Regions from separate parts of the Homo sapiens genome. Here region 1 is linked to region 2. Evidence: promoter capture Hi-C in 16 types of primary human blood cells and fetal thymus (Javierre and others, 2016). All regions are on one chromosome and are shown on one strand. Each heading gives the region's core, a stretch centred on a gene start or on the middle of the fragment in contact. The rest is flanking DNA. Distances are from core to core; before and after follow the strand shown.

Evidence for each region. Contacts are between HindIII fragments. The CHiCAGO score rates a contact against its expected background, and 5 or more counts as called.
Region 1: a contact is called between a fragment that was not itself captured here and the fragment with the promoter of MED8-AS1 in region 2, in 1 of 17 cell types (naive B cells). The highest score is 5.3, in naive B cells.

Annotation. Positions count from the first base shown.
Region 1 is chr1:42,911,449-42,914,644 of GRCh38, forward strand. No RefSeq gene overlaps it. Among named protein-coding and RNA genes, the nearest start is that of SLC2A1, 46 kb to the right of the region's middle. The HindIII fragment of the contact is 160 bases long and covers 1,530-1,689 here.
Region 2 is chr1:43,383,679-43,386,686 of GRCh38, forward strand. It overlaps MED8-AS1 (MED8 antisense RNA 1), which reads left to right and starts at 1,371. Exons shown (of 2, transcript XR_001738027.1): 1 at 1,371-1,463; 2 at 1,606-2,048. MED8 (mediator complex subunit 8) reads right to left here. Exons shown (of 7, transcript NM_201542.5): 5 at 2,911-2,992; 6 at 2,300-2,548; 7 at 239-1,428. The coding sequence ends at 1,364. The HindIII fragment of the contact is 5,225 bases long and covers 818-3,008 here.

The DNA of each region.
Region 1 (3,196 bases), core at 360-2,859, 470 kb before region 2:
ATGGGACATTATTTCCCAATGAATACCCTCACTTCAACAGTAGGCAGGGTGTAAGGCTGCCTACTTACACCCTGTAGTAAGGCTGCGTGTTCAATTTGCATTGTAATTCAGCCAATTACAAGATGAAATCTTCTGTTTCATTTGCAGCAATTTCAGTACTGAGGTTTTAGGAGATAAGGCTCTCCCTCAGGGCACATGTAGAAGCTCTTAGATCATTTATTTGAAGCTCAAGCTGGTAATTTGAATCTCTGAGCTCATCCTCCTCTTTCACCATTTTGTTCAGTGACATTAGGAGCAACCAACCAATGGCATTATATTCCTTGGTTTTCCAAAAACGTTTGAAAGTATCATATACAGAGTTACTTAGGTTTTTACTTCTTATATTTGGTAAACTAGGAGCATCTAATGCATATCTTTATAAATAGTTCATGCAATAGACTACTATAGAGTCCTTAGCATCTTGAAATCTAAGATGATTGAAGAGCCAATTCCATAAGCCCCAAAACCAATTCAGCAAACTCATCCTTAAAATTCTGTTGCTCTAGAACCACTCTCAGTATCGAAATCTGCATTAGTCAGGGTTCTCGAAAAAACCAGAACCAATAAGATATTTATACAGATATTAAGGGCAGATATATTATAAGAATTGGTTCAAGTGATTGTAGAGGCCAAGAAGTCCGTCCCATGATATACTGCCTGCACACTGGAGAAACAGGAAATATGGTAGTGAAATTCAGTGTGAATTTGAAAGCCTGAGAAACAGGGGAGCCAATGATATAACTCCCAATCCAAGGCTGGGGGCCTGAGACCCAGGTGGCTGCTGCTCTGACTCCTGAAGTCTGAAGGCCTAAGAATCAGGAGCTCCAATGTCCAAAGGAAGGAAATGGATGTCCCAGCTAAAGAGAGAGAGAGAGAATTCCCCCCTCCTCTACCTTTTTATTCCATTCAGATGGGCCCTCAATGAGTTGGATAAGACCTGCTAACACTAGGGTGGGTGAATCATTTTTACTCAGTACGCTGACCCAAATGCTAATCTCTGGGAATACTCTAAAAACATACCCAGAAATAATGTTTTACTAGCCATTTGGGTCTTCCTTAACCCAGTCAAGTTGACACATAAAATTAACCATTATACCATTCAAAGCCTGCCAGACACATCCTCTGACCCAGGTGCCCAGCTTGGGGGTGGAAGAGATCCAGTATAGGAAGTAGGTATTTTGAGAGCACATTCAAGGCAGACTTAGGAAACAAAATCCCAAAGGCAGCCAAAAGAATACTAATTTGAATCCTCCAAAAAGGTTATCTTCAAACTGGGTATTCATACCTGTGGATGTCCAAAAAAATTTCCAAGGAATATGTGAACATATTTAGCTTTAAGGGAATCGATGTCCAAATCCCGATCTTTACTTTCTGCATGTACTCTTTTCAAAAACTAATCTTCCTGAGAGGAGTAACATCAGTAATACAGCATAATAGGACATCTCAGACCTTGTTCCTCCATAGACACTGACTTAATATATGGTCCAAAAAGCTTTTATGAGAATTCTAGAAACTAGTGCCTGAGGCAAGTTCAAAGTCAAGAACAGCTATATTAAAATGGGTAAGAAGAAACATTTTCATTTAACCTACAATAGCCCTTTCCCAAAGCCAGTACAGCTTGGTGCTTTCAGGAGTAAATGCCCAACTTGAAGCTTCTACCTTGAGAGTGAAACAGAAGAGTAGAATGTGCGTCCAACATTCAGGCTTTTCAGGGGGCTCCCTGAGGGACCGGTTTCTGTCTTGCCTGACACTGAGTGCTGATAAAGTTAAAAAAAAAATTATATATATATATATATATACACACACGTATATATATACATATATGTGTATATGTATATGTGTATATATACACATATATACACATATATACATATATACACATATATATACATATATACACATATATATACACATATATACACATACACACACACACACACACACACACATATATATATATACATACATACATACACATCCCCTGGGGACTGCTGAGAACAAGAGACATCAACAGCTTGTTGTAGACCCTGAGAACTTGCAGTACTGTAGACAGACACCAGAGAGAGCAAGAGACCACAAGCTTCTGAAAAGACACCAGCAAACCTCTCGAATTGGGAAATCACAGGCACAAGCCCAAGAATACGTATCTCCAGAAAAGGTTTGAGAGACCACTCCCCCAAACTGTTAGTTGAGCTGAATGTTTAAGGTTTTCCCCTTTATGAAGCCAATCCATTAAAACTGGAAGACATGGTCATTTTTTCAAATCCACAAACTCTTGCAAAAAATAACAAGACATATGATGATAGTGGGAAACATGGTCCAGAGGACCAACTATGTATCAGAAATGGAACCCTAAAGAAACAGAGATCTATGAATTACCTGACAACGAATTCAAAATAATCATCTTAAAGAGGCTCAGTGGGCTACAAGAGAATCAGATACACAAATGAAACCAGGAAGTGACCCATAAAAACCAGAATACCAACAAAGACGCAGAGGCCGGGTGCAGTGGCTCAGGCCTGAAATTCCAGCACTCTGGGAGGCTGAGGCAGGAGGATTACATGAGCCCAGGTGTTTGAGACCAGCCTGGGCAATAGAGTGAGACCCTGTCTCTAAAAAGAAAAAAAAGAATCTGTTAAGAAAAAGACCAAATGGAAATTCTGGAGTTGAAAAAAACAATAACTGAATTGAACAATTCACTAGAAGGGATCATAACAGATCTAATTGAGCAGAAGAAACAATCAGGAAATTTGAGACAGGTTATTTGAAATTACTGAGTCAGGGGAAACAAAAGAAAAGATGAAGAAAAGTTAAGAAAGCCTAAGGGACTTATGGGATACAATATATGATCCAAAGAAGCCATCCCTGAGACACATAATAAACTGTCAAAAGTCAAAGAGAGACTCTGAAGGCAGCAAGAGTAAAGTGACTCATCAAGCACAAGGGAGCTCTTATAAAATTATCAGCAGATTTCTCAGCAGAAACCTTACAGGACAGAAGGGAGTGGGATGATATATTCAGAGCACTGAAAGAAAACCTGCCAAGCAAGAATAGTATTCAGGAAAACTGTCCTTCAGAAACGAAGGACAGAAATTTGGTTTCCGGTCCAGCATGTAAGGAGCTTAGAAGGTAACACTCCATCTAAACAGGTTAAAAG
Region 2 (3,008 bases), core at 121-2,620:
TTGTTTGGCACTGAACAAATGCCAAAGTACCAGTGTGTGACAGAACAGAAAAAAGGCAGCTGGAAGGTATGAGCAGGAGGGAAGTTTCAGGATTTTTAGATCAAAGCTAATTAAAGATACGGAAACTTTTTTATGGAGAACAAATTAGAACTGCCTTGCAGCACTCTTGAAACTGCCCCTCTGATCCCTATGTAGTGCTCTCATAAATTACTGTCAGACAACCCTGAGCCAGTGAACATCAATTTAAATAACTTTATTCAGAGGAATCCTTTGGTCCACTTCTGCTGACTCAACCCCTGCCCATGCCAACAAAGGAGTACTAAGAAAGGCAGGTTAGCCTGAATGTCTAAATTCAATTTGTTCAACTTTATAAAAGCAGGCAAAGCTACTGGGGGTTGCCCCCTCCCACCATCATTCTGGTCCACCATTTGGGCCACAGGCTTAGGGAAATGAAGGAAAGTCGTTTTCTTTGAAGGAAATCCTGGCCAAAGTCGAGAAAGTGGGCACCATTATGAGGTCAACTAAACCCTGATGGCAGTGTGAAGTGCAATTCCCTTCTCCCTCCAAAATAAGAAACATGAATCCAGGGGAAGGGGCTTTTTCGTGTGCTAAGGAAAAACCCTTTCCCACATAGTCCTGCCTGGCAGAGCCACTTCCTGAGAAAGCCTCGTGTGTATAAGGTGGGGTAAAGGATAGGGGACTTTATGACTATTTGACAGGTAAAAGCCAAGTTGGCTCCTTAGAGGATGGAAAGGAGAGCAGGCCCAAGCTTCACCAGAGCTGCAGGTGGGCATTTTTTTTTCCTTCCTGGCCCAGAAGCTTCTTCACCTTGCGCCTTAGAGGGATAGCCAGAATGAAACCCAGGCAGGAGGGCCTGCAAAAACAGTGTGCCTCTAAGAACACAGAGGTTGCTACAGTTTCTGGCAGCACAAAATAAGCATAGCCTTATTTGATCTTGTGTCCATCAGCTCACCATTGACGTGAGGCAGTATCAGATTAGGGTAAGTTCTGGATCAAGGACTGTGGAGGGTGGTGGGGAGAAGGATCTGTAGAAACTATCATTTATTGAATACCCATTATTTCATATACTGTACTAAGTGCTTTACATTCATTTCCTCATTTTAATCCTCACAACAACCCTATGAGGTAGGTATTATCACCATTTACAAATGAGAAACAGGCTCAGAAAAATTAGGTCACTTGTCCAAGGTCACACAGCTAGTCAGTGGTGGAAGTGGGATTTGTCTGCTGCTGAAAGCCCATGTTCTTTTTATTGTACCCATCTAGGTGAGCCTTGAGCAAAAGGTAATTTCACTGCCCAACTCTGCAAAGAGCACCAGGGAGTCGAGGTTGCCAGCCACACTCACCGCTGGTAGGGATGCATGGAAGCCGACTTGATGTTGGTTTTTATTCCACTTGGCATTTTCCCTGAAAGGAACATTAAAAAAGTCATCTTAAGCAAGGTAAGACTTTCATGACAAATCAGAAATGTGGTACCTCAGGTTCCCTCTGTCACTTCCTTTATCATCTCAGAACCTCTGCGGCATCTGACCCTGTTTGACAGAGGTCAGAAGTATGATTCTTCACCCAGCTGTCTCCCTGAAGGTGTCCAGGAGGAAAGAAGTGACATGGGAGAATAGTCTGTTCATCCACTCCTAGAACAGATAGCTAAACCTGTGTGACTCCCATTTAACGTCACAGGTAAAAGAGTACTATGTTCTCTCATTGTTTTTCTTTTTTTATATCATAATAAGTGCAGAATCTCTCTTTAATTGTCCCTTTTCCTAGACAGCTTGGAGGAAATAACTCTTCTAGCTGCCTGCATCTAGACTGTTCTAAAAATGAGTAGGAGAGAAGGCAGGAAGCCAAGAGCAAGAGAGGCAGGATACAGAGAAAAGAATACATGTAGGACTGGAAAACTGGCCTGCGTGTCAATTCCTGATGCACCTACCAAATGGTCTTAAGATCTGACTGCTGATTTCTCTACCTAACAAGAGACACTGACAACATATCTAATACCAGAATAAATGGGATAGAAGGATAGTTGACACAGAGATGTGAGATGCGGATGAGAAATTGGAGCAGTTTCTGTTACTCAAAGTTCTTCCTCACTCTCTGGTGCCTGTTGCAGAGTCTCAGATGAGATTTTTTTACTTCTGAAAATTATTTCCTGGGTCACAGTGAAAAGGAGAAATAGAGAAAACCTCTAGGTCTAGAGATGCTGGAGGCCCAGATAATCTAGCTTATTCCCTCCCACTCCTGCTCAAAGTCAGCTTCATTTCAACCCCTGCCACCTTACCTGGTTGACCTGCCTGAGCCATTTGTACCCCACTGAGCATTGGCTGCTGCTGGCTTGGAGCTCCTGCCATCTGCACCTGCTGTAATCCTGAGGTTCCTGCAAGGATCGTCCCAGCTCCTGGCTGGCCTGCCTGGCCAGGACCACTGCTGCCTGAAGGTCTCCAATTAGATAGTCCTTTCCCAAAGGCAACAGCTGCCACCAAGGCATTAGTGTCTGTAGGGTTAAAGGTCTGCTTGTTCGGCCGGAGACCTGAAGAAAAAGTAATGGGGATCCTGAAGTATGCTTCTGATGCAGGACTGAACGTGGCAGCTGGAAGACCAGTATGAGTGCCAGGGTTTGGAGTTCTGAATTCAGCAACATCTAGACTCCCTCACAGCCCAGAAAAAGAGCCAGAGGACCCCCAAGCCTATCTCAGAATTCTCTCTTCTTACTTTGCCCATTTCCTCCACTGCTTCAGTGCTGGCCTTAAATACAAAAGGCTAACAGAATGGATACAAACCCCAAAGCAGTTCACCCTTGTGTCCTAACTTCACTACTTCCAAAACAACCATTCCCATTCCAGTGATCTTATATACCTCTCCTTCTCTGTTTAGCCACCAGTCCCATCATACCTCCACTCTCTGATTCTCGCTCCTCTTTGCTGATTTTCTCCAGAAGGTTTGAACACATTTTATTCAAGCTCTGGATCTGCTTCTGTAACACACAAATT